Regions from separate parts of the Homo sapiens genome. Here all the other regions are linked to region 1. Evidence: promoter capture Hi-C in 16 types of primary human blood cells and fetal thymus (Javierre and others, 2016). All regions are on one chromosome and are shown on one strand. The core of a region is centred on a gene start or on the middle of the fragment in contact, and the rest is flanking DNA. Distances in the headings are between cores, read along the strand shown.

What was found. The method cuts DNA at HindIII sites, captures the fragments that hold promoters and counts their contacts. A CHiCAGO score of 5 or more calls a contact.
Region 2: a fragment that was not itself captured here is called in contact with the fragment with the promoter of DVL2 in region 1 in 1 of 17 cell types (activated CD4 T cells); the score reaches 5.4 in activated CD4 T cells.
Region 3: a fragment that was not itself captured here is called in contact with the fragment with the promoter of DVL2 in region 1 in 3 of 17 cell types (M0 macrophages, erythroblasts and naive CD8 T cells); the score reaches 7.2 in M0 macrophages.

The regions. Positions count from the first base shown.
Region 1 is chr17:7,232,517-7,236,766 of GRCh38, reverse strand. It overlaps DVL2 (dishevelled segment polarity protein 2), which reads left to right and starts at 2,250. Exons shown (of 15, transcript NM_004422.3): 1 at 2,250-2,698. The coding sequence starts at 2,505. PHF23 (PHD finger protein 23) reads left to right here. Exons shown (of 5, transcript NM_024297.3): 4 at 1-837; 5 at 927-1,729. The coding sequence ends at 1,141. RefSeq lists an enhancer at 2,053-2,102 and a silencer at 2,213-2,512. The HindIII fragment of the contact is 14,867 bases long and covers 1-4,250 here.
Region 2 is chr17:8,150,178-8,154,427 of GRCh38, reverse strand. PER1 (period circadian regulator 1) reads left to right here and starts at 2,024. Exons shown (of 23, transcript NM_002616.3): 1 at 2,024-2,091; 2 at 3,583-3,996; 3 at 4,111-4,209. The coding sequence starts at 3,722. RefSeq lists enhancers at 1-119, 1-151, 1,783-2,077, 3,291-3,400, 3,870-4,250 and a silencer at 3,031-3,130. The HindIII fragment of the contact is 3,689 bases long and covers 680-4,250 here.
Region 3 is chr17:7,834,866-7,839,115 of GRCh38, reverse strand. All of the region lies in intron 1 of KDM6B (lysine demethylase 6B), which reads right to left. LOC124904106 (translation initiation factor IF-2) reads left to right here. Exons shown (of 4, transcript XM_047437265.1): 4 at 2,472-3,708. The coding sequence ends at 3,499. Among named protein-coding and RNA genes, the nearest start is that of KDM6B, 2.8 kb to the right of the region's middle. RefSeq lists silencers at 1,328-1,477, 3,018-3,077, 3,098-3,517 and enhancers at 2,348-2,397, 4,066-4,250. The HindIII fragment of the contact is 2,138 bases long and covers 182-2,319 here.

The sequences.
Region 1 (4,250 bases), core at 1,001-3,500:
AAAGTGACTGGCCAGCCTCTGGCTCCAGCTCTCCATTGCGAGGAGAGAGTGCGGCCGACAGTGATGGCTGGGACTCGGCCCCCTCAGATCTTCGAACCATCCAGACTTTTGTTAAGAAAGCAAAGTCATCCAAGAGAAGGGCAGCTCAAGCAGGTCCCACCCAGCCAGGACCCCCAAGGTCCACTTTCTCTCGTCTGCAGGCCCCCGACAGTGCTACCTTGCTTGAGAAGATGAAGCTCAAGGACTCTCTCTTTGATCTGGATGGGCCCAAAGTGGCATCTCCTTTGTCCCCCACATCCCTGACACATACCTCCCGGCCCCCTGCTGCTCTTACCCCCGTGCCCCTTTCCCAGGGGGACCTCTCCCATCCTCCTCGAAAGAAGGACCGAAAGAACCGAAAGTTGGGGCCAGGAGCTGGGGCTGGCTTTGGGGTGCTTCGGAGGCCTCGGCCAACTCCTGGGGATGGGGAAAAGAGATCTCGAATCAAGAAGAGCAAGAAGCGGAAGTTAAAAAAGGCAGAACGGGGGGATAGACTCCCACCTCCTGGGCCTCCCCAGGCACCCCCCAGTGATACAGACTCTGAAGAGGAGGAGGAAGAGGAGGAAGAGGAAGAAGAAGAAGAGATGGCAACAGTGGTAGGGGGTGAAGCCCCAGTCCCTGTGCTGCCAACACCCCCTGAGGCTCCTAGGCCCCCTGCCACAGTGCACCCTGAAGGAGTCCCTCCTGCTGACAGTGAAAGCAAGGAGGTGGGCAGCACTGAAACAAGCCAAGATGGAGATGCCAGCTCCAGTGAAGGCGAGATGCGGGTCATGGACGAGGACATCATGGTAGAATCAGGTGAGAGGTTCGGGCTGGGGCGAGGGGTTTGAGGGTGTTGTGGATCCAACAGCTCAGGCAGAATACCAAACAAACCTTTTTTTCCCCAGGTGATGACTCATGGGATCTGATCACATGTTACTGTCGAAAGCCCTTTGCAGGGCGGCCCATGATTGAGTGCAGCCTGTGTGGGACGTGGATCCACCTCTCCTGTGCTAAGATTAAGAAGACCAACGTCCCCGACTTCTTTTATTGCCAGAAATGCAAGGAACTGAGGCCAGAGGCCCGGCGGTTAGGGGGGCCTCCCAAATCTGGAGAGCCCTGATGGCACCAACTTTAGCCTGGAACTTCCAAATGACAACATGATTTGGGAACTGAGCCTCAGGGTCCTCAGCCTATCCCCTGGAGCTTGGATACTGTCTGCACTTCAAGGCAGGAATTCTCAAGGGAGACTTGTTTGAAAATGAGTGTCTCACTTTCCCACCCTATCCTTCCTCCCCACTCTGTGGACTTGAAATTGAATCCATTACGGTTGGGGATGGGAGGCTGTCTGTGTCCCGACACATAATCTCTGTCTCTTGGACCTGCCACCATCACTTTCTGGGTCAGGATTGGAATTGGGATGGAATGGGACAGTTGTCTATAAAACTCTAGTGTAAATATTAGCACTCCCCTCCCTCATCTTTTCTTCTATTTCACTCCCCATTTATTTTCTTCTACACCGGTTGTATTTTTAATTTTGGACTTCCCCTATTGGGCATGGCAGCTCAAAGGTGGAGTACTAGAGCCTGGCCAAGTGAGGAAGGAAAGCAGAAAGGTGACGATTCTCACTCACCTCTTTTGTTTTTAATAATATCGGCCGCTGTTTGTACAGACAGCCTGCGTGTTGTAAATAAAGCAGAGTGGGCTCTTTTGTGTTTATAGCCCTCACTGTCCTGCTCGGGAGGGAGGCTTTGGTGGCTGAAGACTAGCTGGAGGTGGGGCTGAAACCCACGTCTCAAAGTCCAATCTGAAGATATCACAGCACTGGGCCTTTCCCACCCCAAGACAAGTAAGCCACCTTAGAGCTTTCATTGTATTTGGCCCTCCCCACTCGAGTCTAGGAACCCCCACAGTCCCCACCTTCACTCCCTGCACGCACACTCCTGCGGGTCAGAGTTGCTTCGTGCTCCATCGTGGGTGGGGTAAAGCGGGGTGGGAGCCGATGGTCCGTTTCCTGAAGGCACAGGCCAGCTTAGCCTGGGTGCTCAGAGGACCTCGGCTGGGGTACACGTTTGGGGGCTGGGAGACCGTTGCTGAAGGCAGCGATCATGTGGCGGGGGCACTAGGCGGAGTCAGACGGTCACGTGATTGGGAGGGGATCACGTGACGGAGGGCGGCTGAGGAGCGCGGGGTGGCTGCCTTTAAGTCACGTGACATGAGGAGAGGTGGGCGGGTACCTGGAGGAAGCTCGCGGCGTCGGTGGCGGTGGCGCGCGGCGGCCGCTGAGACCGGGGCTTTGAGTCGCACCCCGCGGCCCGCCCCCCGCCGCCACCCTCGCAGATCCGTGCTTTTTCCCCTTTGCTTCTCTCCCGTACTGGGTCAGTCCTGTCCGCGCTCGCGCGTCGGTTTGCGGGTGTGCGCAGGCGCGGCAGGGGCCATTAGCCCTTTGGGTGGGCGGTGGAGCCCGGGAGCGCGCGGGCGAGACCATGGCGGGTAGCAGCACTGGGGGCGGTGGGGTTGGGGAGACGAAGGTGATTTACCACCTGGATGAGGAAGAGACTCCCTACCTGGTGAAGATCCCTGTCCCCGCCGAGCGCATCACCCTCGGCGATTTCAAGAGCGTCCTGCAGCGGCCCGCGGGCGCCAAGTACTTTTTCAAGTCTATGGATCAGGATTTCGGGTGAGCGCAAGGCCTAGATAGGACCGGCGGGGGCTTTGCTAGAGTGGATTGGGCGACATGGAGGGGCACACGTCTACTTTGGGCCACACTGGGATTTTCTGGCCTATGGTGGAGCAGATTGTACTATGCTGAGGTAGGTTGACTATCCCAGGATGGACAAGGTTATGCTTGGATAGATTGAGGCACACGGACAGACTAGGATATCCTAAACCAGATTAGACAAGATTAGGCTTTACTGGAATAGGTGGGGGCATACTGGTTTATGTTGGAGTATTCTAGTCTGTACTGAGTAAATTGATCCATTGTCTGGTTGTTTAGTACGTTCTCAGGAGTCCTGTAACGCCTGTAATCCCAGCACTTTGGGAGGCTGAGGCGGGCGGATCACGAGGTCAGGAGATCGAGGCCATCCTGGCTAACACGGTGAAACCCCATCTCTACTAACTAAAAATACAAAAAATTAGCCGGGCGTGGGGGCACGCGCCTGTAGTCCCAGCTACTTGGGTGGCTGAAGCAGGGAGAATCTCTTGAACCTGGGAGGCGGAGGTTGCAGTGAGCCGAGATCGCGCCACTGCACTCCAGCCTGGGCGACAGTGCGAGACTCCGTCTCAGAAAAAAAACAAAAAACACTTGGGCCATTATGGACTCTACTGGGTTGTATTGGTTAATCCTGGTTTCTCTTGGGGCAAGACTTGGTTTTATTGGAGCACTCGGTATAGGGGCAGACAAGGCTGTTGGGGCCTGTGCTAGCACAGGCAGCCGTATTGGGATGTTCCAATCTAGACTGGTGCAGACAGCTGCGTGTGGGGGCATTGTAGGCTGTGCTAGAATAGATTGGGCTATCCTAGGGTAATTTGGGACATTCAGGGCTATCTTGGACTAGATTGGCGTGTAAATAATGCAGAGAAAGCCCTTTTGTGTTTATGGTCTTTGGGGCTGAGCCTTCTGGGTCCTCAACCTCTGCTTTTTTTTTTTTTTTTTTTTGAGACAGTCTCGCTCTGTCGCCCAGGCTGGAGTGCAGTGGCGCATTCTCAGCTCACTGCAAGCTCTGCCTCCCGGGTCCACGCCATTCTCCTGCCTCAGCCTCCCAAGTAGCTGGGACTACAGGCGTCCGCCACCACACCCGGCTAATTTTTTGTATTTTTTAGTAGAGACGGGGTTTCACCGTTTTAGCCAGACTGGTCTCTGACTTCTGACCTCGTGATTCGCCCGCCTCAGCCTCCCAAAGTGCTGGGATTACAGGCGTGAGCCACCGCGCCCGGCCCAACCTCTGCTTTTTTGAAGGCAGGCTGGATTAAGTTGGGATAGCATGGGTTTTAGAAGAACTGAACAAACTGGACTCTAGCTAGAAAGATTGTTTGACATGGGGATGCTGATACTATCTTGGGAGTTATCTTGGCTTTAAGGCAAGGTTTTTCTAGTTGTCAGCAATGTAATCTTGGACAATTTATTTAAATTTTGTGTCTTGATCTCATCTGTGACATGGAGAAAATCACAGAATGAAATGGTTAGTTCACGTGTGTGGCACACGGGAAATTCTTGGTGAATGGTAATT
Region 2 (4,250 bases), core at 1,275-3,774, 920 kb before region 1:
CCGCCTCCCAAACCGCTGCCTCTCCAGTCTCTCCAGCCTCCCTGCCCCACATTCCGAGGCAGCTTCGCCCCGCCCCCTTCTTCCGCTTTGACGTCACTGCTGTCTCCCGCCCCCTCGCCTCCATTGACGGCAGCAGGGCCTGGTTACTGTGGGGACGGTGAAGCAGGACAACAAGAGTCTTGGGAGCAAGCGGGGGCTGCTGGAGGGCTGGAGCCTTTTGTCTATGCAAAAGACAGGGAGATGGAGGCGGGAGATCAAGGACTGCCTGGGTTAGGGGAGATCACACCTAAATCCCTGAAGGGGGAGAAAAACCATGTTTCCAGGGAAGAGGTATCTGCAAACGAGATAAGGCCAAAGCCACAGTATGAGTTGGGGTGGAGAGGATCATTTTCAGGGAGAGGAGACTGAGAATCCAAGCTCCTGAATCTTTTTTTTTTTTTTTAATAGAGACGGGGTTTCTCCATGTTGGTCAGGCTGGTCTCGAACTCGCTACCTCAGGTGATCCGCCTGCCTGGGCCTCCCAAAGTGCTGGGATTACAGGCCACCGCGCCCGGCCTCCAGGCTCCTGAATCTTTTGTTTTCCTGTTTCGATTTTTCTGGGTTAATTTATAACACGATCTTGTCTCAGCTTTTCCACAGAGCCCTCCCCTTCACCCTTCCCTCATTGTTCAGGAAAGCTTAGGCCACGTGACAGTGAGGGGAGTGCCCCCACAATGATTATGTCAGCAGCTGCTTGGAGGCCTGTTCATCTACTACCCACGTTTCCAGGGAGCCCTGCGAGGAACTACTCATCACGGTCCTGGATGGAGGGGGCTGTGTAACTGCAGCTCTCCTGAGCCCAGACTAACATTTTATTGCCTGCAAATCGTGCCCCTGTTCTCTTTCTAGGACTACTCATCTCTTTTAGAGAATCAGAATTCCCAGCCCCCTTTCTCCTGTTGACACTCTTTTCCCACCTCCCCAACCTATCCTTGTTTAAAAAAAAAAAAATCATGTTTATCGATCACTTGCCATGTGTCAGGTCCTGTCCTGGGCTCTGGAGACTACAGTGAATGAGACAGATGACGTTCCGTCTGGGCCCCTGGAGTTTGGCTTTCTCTTTTCCAAGCAGTGGAAATATGAAGCCCTTGCCACCCCACATTTCTCTGTCTAGGGCCCCAGCTGGCCTCTTCTCTGGGCCATCCCCTTGGTCCCTCTGTAGTCCTGGCTTCCTGGCCCCCACTTTTGGGGCAGCTTTAACTGTGGGTGGCTGCGTCCTCTGGAGGAAAGTACTAGACACCACGTAGGCTGCCCGGAGACCTTGTCTCTGAGTGGCCATAGAAGCACCTGCCATTGTTTCCCTTCACAGCCACTATTGGCTCTGGTTGCCCCTTCCATTGTCCGCATCCTTCCTCCACCCACTCACCCACCGGTCACACGTGGACCCTTAACTGTCCTCTCCCAGGATTTGAAGTGTCAGAGGAAGTGCTTCGGTTAAAGGGCTTCATTATGTAGAACGAAGGTTGGGAGGGAACAAGGTTGGGAAAGGAACCCAGGAGAGGCCCAGGCAGGTTTCTGTCTCTCCCCTCCTCTCAAGGACCACCCATCTCATCCAGCGTGGCCTAACTTGCAGCGCCATTCCTTTTCCTCACCCTTGGAAAGGCGAAGATGCCAAGATGTTGTGTTCTGCAAGGCTAGTGCGTTCAGGAAGTAGACAAGTCTTGAGCACCTACCCCGGGCCGGGCTTTTTCCCTAAAGAGGCGCAGCGTATCTCCCTCTCTCCTCCCTTCCATTATTCAATGTGCAAGCGTCCTGCGCCCATTGGCTGGGCGGTGTCTGGGGCTCTTCAGCCCAGCACCAGCACCCAGGTCCACGTGCGCCCGTGTGTGTGACACAGCCCTGACCTTAGTGGAGACCACTAGCCAATCAGGCGCCGGGAAGAGATCCCCAGCCAATCGGGGGCGGGGCCTGCGGCTCCGTCGGCAAGAGGCCAATGAGGGGGCAGTGCCCGGCATTATGCAACCCGCCTCCCCGCCCGCCCGGTGGAGCTTCCACTCGGCTGCGGGCTGGAGCGGCGGCGGGCAGGCGTGCGGAGGACACTCCTGCGACCAGGTAGGCATCTCTGCGGCCATCCTGGGGCCGATCTCCGTCCCTGAGCCGGACCGCTGCCACTTCCAATCTGATGGGCTACTTTCGGCCCAGGCAGAGGGCACACTGTCGTCCTTACCGCTACCCACCCTCTCCCTGCCCCCAAGGACCGAAGTCCTCCTCGAAATCTTGCACCGGGAGTCTGCACTCCTGACCCACTCATCTTACCTCCAGCTTGTCCCCACCTCCCCGTCCCAGCTTTCCCGGCCCCACAGCCGACTCTCAGCGGGCATGCCCCGGTCTTCTTGCTCGTTACTCGAGGGGCCCCAGGTTTGCCCCGGTACCAGGACCCTATTAGGCTTTCAGCGCTCCCCGTGTCTCTGTTCTCCAGTCCCTGGCCCTGCGCCGCCTGTGATGTCAGCCCACTTCGGACTAGAACATCCCGTTCCCAGCGCTGGTTCCTGCTGTTGGCCACAACCTTCCCTTTTCCCCTGGCGCTCAGAAAATGCTCAGTAGTAGGGGTGTGGTTGGACGGGGAGTAGGGGAAGAAAGATCTGTTGGCTGTTGTGTGTCTTCTGCCCAAGGCTTGGGGTTGGTGGGGGGGTCTGGCCAGAAAAGTAGGGGACTGAAGAGAGAGGATCCTCGGGTCCTTGACGATGGCAGGTTGCCGGCTTCGGTCCTTGTGGTGGGGAAGCAGCGCAGGGGCTAAAGAAGGAAAGGTTGTGTTGTCTTGACCAGAATGACTGGGATCCAGGCGAGAGTCAGGTTGAGGGGCTTTTGCGCCGAGGGCAGTGGCCGTTGTGCTTCGTCCTGGGGAAGCCAGGACCAACCCTGGGATCCTAATAGGCCGTCCCACTTCTTACGGCCACCGAGCCATCCTGGGACTGGGGATATGTAAGGGATGCGTGACCCCCCCGGCCGCGCCCACCAGTGTGAGAGTGGGCCGTTCCCCCACTTCCGCCGGGAAATGGGGGAGGGGTCGCTCCTCCCGCCCTCCTGTGGTCCCTCCAGCAACCGCTGAGCTCAGCAGCTGACGTCGGTTTCCCTGGCGACCGTGGCGGCGGCGGAAGCGCGTGGTGGGGCCGCGCACGTCGGCGCGCATGTGCAGCGGGGGTGGCACCGCCCCCGGATAAAATTAGCCTGGAGGCCTAAATATAGGAGGCGACCAGCTCACCTCCTGCTCCGAGGCCTTGGAGGCCCAGGCAGAGTGGACACCTAATGGGAACTTGGGAATGGGAAGTGTCCAGGTTTTTGTCTACAGCCGTGGTTCTCATTGACTGCTCAGGCCATGGTGGCAGGGGATGTGAAGGAAGGCCCCGGAGAACCTTCTCCCGCTGGCAGTCCCCCTAAGGGTACAGGAGACATCCTGACTCCCCATTGGAAGCCCCAGGCCTGGGTTCCACTCCCATCAGTCCTGCAGGAGGCCAGGCAGGGGGAAGGTCTGAGTGAAGCCAGCAGGTGCTCTGGAGTTAAACCAGCTTTCTGCAAGCCCTGCTTCCTGGTCTCCCTCTCCAGGTACTGGCTGTGATCGAACTTCTCAACCCTCAGAGACTTAGATCTTCCACCTCACTCCCTCAGCCAAGCCTCCAGGCCCCCTCGTGCATCCGTGGTGGCCTCTCTGCCTTCTCTGTTCTGTTCTCCCCATGGCCCAGACATGAGTGGCCCCCTAGAAGGGGCTGATGGGGGAGGGGACCCCAGGCCTGGGGAATCATTTTGTCCTGGGGGCGTCCCATCCCCTGGGCCCCCACAGCACCGGCCTTGCCCAGGCCCCAGCCTGGCCGATGACACCGATGCCAACAGCAATGGTTCAAGTGGCAATGAGTCCAACGGGCATGAGTCTAGAGGCGCATCTCAGCGGAGCTCACACAGCTCCTCCTCAGGCAACGGCAAGGACTCAGCCCTGCTGGAGACCACTGAGAGCAGCAAGAGGTGTGTATGGATGTGTATGTTGGGTCTAGGAATGGTCTTGTGAGCAGGCAGAGCTGGGTGACAGGCCTCGCACTGCTGGCCCTACCTGTAACTGGGCCTGTTGCTGTCTCCTAGCACAAACTCTCAGAGCCCATCCCCACCCAGCAGTTCCATTGCCTACAGCCTCCTGAGTGCCAGCTCAGAGCAGGACAACCCGTCCACCAGTGGCTGCAGGTACGTCGGGTGAGGCTGGAGGAGAGGTCTGGGGGCCCAGG
Region 3 (4,250 bases), core at 1-2,500, 600 kb before region 1:
GCTCCTCAGGGACCTATGTTTTCTGCTCCCTTAATCATAGTTCTCTGCCCTTATGGACCCAAACACTTGGGGTCCCAATCTAATCTCTATATTCCCTAGCCTTCCGGCCCCCATCCTTCCCCTTGCCTCAGAGACTCAGGCCTCTAGCCCCCAGTCTCCATGATGCAATGTTCCGCAAGCTTCTGTGGCTGCTGATGACACTGCCCCCAGGGAGGTGCTATTTGTGACCCACCAAGGCCTCCTTCCTAAGCCAGGGTAGTGGTCAGCTGTAGGTGGTAGAGGTCAGGCAGGCAAGGCCCTTCTGCTCGGGAAGGGAGCTTCAGGCTAGAACTCTCCAGGACAGGGAGGCTCATAACCTGGGAGCAGAGAGTGTGTATCTATAGTCTGTGGCATCTGTGTTCTGCGGTTGTGCTGGGGGGAGGGACTAGGAAAGGGCTAGTCGAGAGCAGAGTGGGCAGACTTTAGGACAGACCAAGAGGAGGAGTGAGGGGGAAGCCTAGGGGGTCAGAGGGTGTGTGAGGGGTGTCTGGACAACAGAGTGGGGGAGGGGCTAACAGCCATTTAAAGGGCCAGCCCCAGAGCTTTAATCCCTCACCAGCCCTGGCCCCAAGCCGGAGGCTGTAATTCATCTGTCCAACAGCTGGGGTGTGTGTGTTTGTGTGTGTGTGGGGGGGGGGGCTTCCTCCCCCTTCTATTCCCTCCCTCCTCCTCCCCGTCCCTGAGTCCCGGAGTCAAACAAAGAACTGTAGCAGGCTCTCCCCAACCCCCTCCCTCCTCCTCCTCCTCCTCCTCCACCTCCTCCTCCCCTCCCTCCCTCCCCACCAGCAGGCTCCCTCCTCCTCCCTTCCGGTCTCTTCCTTTAACTACCCGCCCCCCCAGCCCCCAGCACTAGTCTCTCTCCACCCACCCACCCCAACCTTTTACACACCCCTCAGCCTAGCCCTGTCCCCACTAGAGAAACTGTGGAGTCCCTCTGCAAAACGAAAGGCTCCAGAGATCAACACGGGAGGGGGCTGGGGTCTTGCTTCAAAATCAAGAACCATAATACAATTATTTTATTTTCAAGGCCCACGGAATAGTCTTAGCTATTTCTTGTCCAAGAGAAAAAAAAATAATCCTAAAGAAAGCAATACAAATCTGCCTAAAGCCTTCATCAAATAAAATGCACAAAGCAGTTGAAGCTAATCCCCAGCCCCCTAACCCCAATCTCCAAATTAACACAAACTATCCACTACCCCTTAACAAACTCCTACGGTTACCGCTGGTTTGGAGCAGACCCACAGCAATAATAATAAACTAGTAACTAACACCATTTAATAATAAAAGTATTTCATAACAACAAGCACTCATTCTGTGTTCATTCTGTGCCAGGCACTGTGCTAAGTGATTTGCATAAATTATCTCATTTTTTTCCTCCCAGCGGCCTTCAAGGTAGGTGTTGATATTTAAATGTTCAAGATTAACATACGAGGCTCAGAGAGGTTCTGACCTCTCCAAGTCCTAGTAGCCACTAAGTGACAGAGCTAGAATTAGAATCCAGGTCTGATCTGACAGCCCAAGCTCTAAGGTACATAAAAGCACAAACCGATTCATTCCAATACCATCACCAACCCTGGGACTTAATAGAGAAGAACAACCATAGCAATCAACTGAGTCCCCCTCCACCAAGTGAGAGGCTACAAACCGATTCACCCGCATACACACAATAAAGACCCTGACTTTTCAGCCTAATACTGTTTCTTGACCCTTTTCCTTTCATTGTTTGCAGATGGGGGTGTGCCATTATGGGGATTTCAGGGATAAGCTGGTGTGTAGTGAACCCCCCCCCATACTACACACAACTCTTCCGTCTTTCAACCACTCCCACTTCAAATCAATCTGGGGAAGGGGGCAATAGGACACTTGGCCATGCAGCAGGTGGGAAAGTAAAATGACGGCTAGGTAGCTTTTTCTATGGGGGCGGAGCCTTGGAGGGGAAGCTCTTCTGTGCCAATCTAGGGAAAAGTGACCCAAGGCTCCCTCAGCCCAGCAAAGGGGCAAAGTCTTTCAGCCACACCACACCCGTGCCCCTCCCCCTCACAAAACTCCAGGCCGGGGTTTCCCACCTGCAGGATGCTAAGACCACGGGAAGGGAGAGGGGAAAGAGATGGCACGGGACTGGAACTGGACTCGGGGCAGAGGTGGGAGGGAATAGAAGGGGGAGGAAGCCTCATTGCCTGGCAACCATCCCGGGGCACGTGCACTAGTGACATCATCCCAGGCCACCTCTAACACAGACCTTTGACCCCTACGGGGCGGAGTGGGTGTGCTGGCTAAGCTTCCTGGAAACACTGGAAACACCCTTAGGAATTCTGGGAACCCAAAAAGGAGACATAAGAAGAAACCCAGGCGTCCTTATCTCTTTTACCCCTAATACGACTCCAATCCCAGGGACTCAGGCCTCTTGCCTGTCTCCTCCTCTCCGCCTGCAGCCCTGACCTCCCAACCCACATTTCTGACGGGAGTCGGCCCGACACGCCCCTCGGAGATACTGTGCCTTCTCTCTCCTGGGCGAGATCTCGGTGGGGGCCGGCAGGCGGGGACGGGGGCACCGGGTCCCGCGGGGCTCCGTCTTCCATCTGCAGGATCCCCCGTGCCCCAGCCGGCCGCCAGCCGGAATCTGTCTGGGTCCCCAACTCTCCCGCCCCTCCCCGCGCTGTTCCAGGGCGGAGTCTGTGGAGTTGAAACCAGGACACGGCGAGAGGAAGAGTTATATAACCGGGAGAAGCGAAGAAGGACGAGTGGAGACAGGGACAGACAGCCCGAAAGGAGCCGAGGGAGGTGCAAAGAACGCCGGGGCGAACGAGGAGGAAACGTTAGGAATGGGAAGGGTTTTGGTGCACATCAAAGAGCAGGAATTCACGCGAAGAAGGGGCGTGATGGCCCAGAAGAATCACCTGGGCCGTCCGGGGCTTCCCCGCAGTGCCCTCCTCCGCCACCAACAGCAGCTGGGCCCGGGCGGGAGAAGCCTTGGGAAGGGGCGCTGGTACCCGCTCGCTTTCTCTTGGGAAAGCAACTTAAGCCAGAGCCCGGGAAGGCAGCGGCCGAGCAGATGGGGCCGGAAACCACAGCTCCGCCCAGCCCACCTGGGAGTGTGGGGCGCCAGCTGGGGGGAGGTGGGGAACAGGTAGTCGGCCCTCCCGAGCCAGGCTGGGCATTATGGTCGCGACCGGCGAAACGGTGCAGACCGACCGAGACGTGTGGGTCCCCAGGGGCTGAAGAGCGCAGCCTCAGGCGGCTTTACACAGACTCCACGAGGGGAGGGGGGCGCCCGGCTCGCCGCGCAGGCGCAAGGGGGTGCTCGGGCGCGTGCGGCGCAGGGCGGGGGGTGGGCGCGAGCGTGTGGGAGTGCACGTGCGGGTCCCAGGCAGCTGCTGCCTCCCAGCCTCCGCCGCTGCCCCTCCCCTCTCCCTTTCCTGTCGCTATCATCCCCCTTCCCCATTGGCTGCCAGGGCCCTGACGTCAGGGCCGACCGCTGGAGCGGATTGGGCGGACGGGAGAGTTCGGGAATCCGGCTCCCAAGTCTCGCCCTCCAGTTACTCTGGCAACAGGACAAGCAACCCAGGGGAGGGAAGGGGAGCCGAGGTCAACGCTGCGCCTCGGTCCCTAACCCCCTCCGGACAACCACCGAGTCCCCTTCGGTCGCGGCGCAGCTCGCTACCTCCCCGCCTTCCTCCCAGGGCTCTTCCTGTCCCGGGAACCAGGCGTCCTGCCCTCGGCCTTCCCCACAGTCTTCAGGCCCTCCGCTGTCTCTAACCCCCACCAGTGTCACAACATAAGCTGCAGCAAACAGGAAGCGAATCTACGTCGCTTAGCAACCACCCCGCGTGCCCCCCTCCCCACTATTTACCCCAGCCGGGAGAGGCGGAGATTGAGTCCCCAGCCCCCTCCCCGTCTTCTGCGCTGCGACCTCCTGCCCACAATTTCCTGTGAGGGGGCCCAGATCACAGGAAGTCAAGTGGGGGCCTCAGCCTACCTTTCCCTCGGACCGGGGCGGGGGGCTTCAGCTACTTTCACGGTCACATCCCCCACCTGCCCTGGGTGCGTCTCGCCCTCGCCATCTTGTGGCTACGTTGGGAAGGCTCCGCACCGAGAAGCCGTGCGGGGCGCGCTAGGGTTCGGGAACGGCGGAGTGGGAGAAGGACTAGGGATGAGGAGGCTAGCGGGGCGAGACGGAGTGAAAGGGAGGCGCAGGGGGGTGGTGGGAAGAA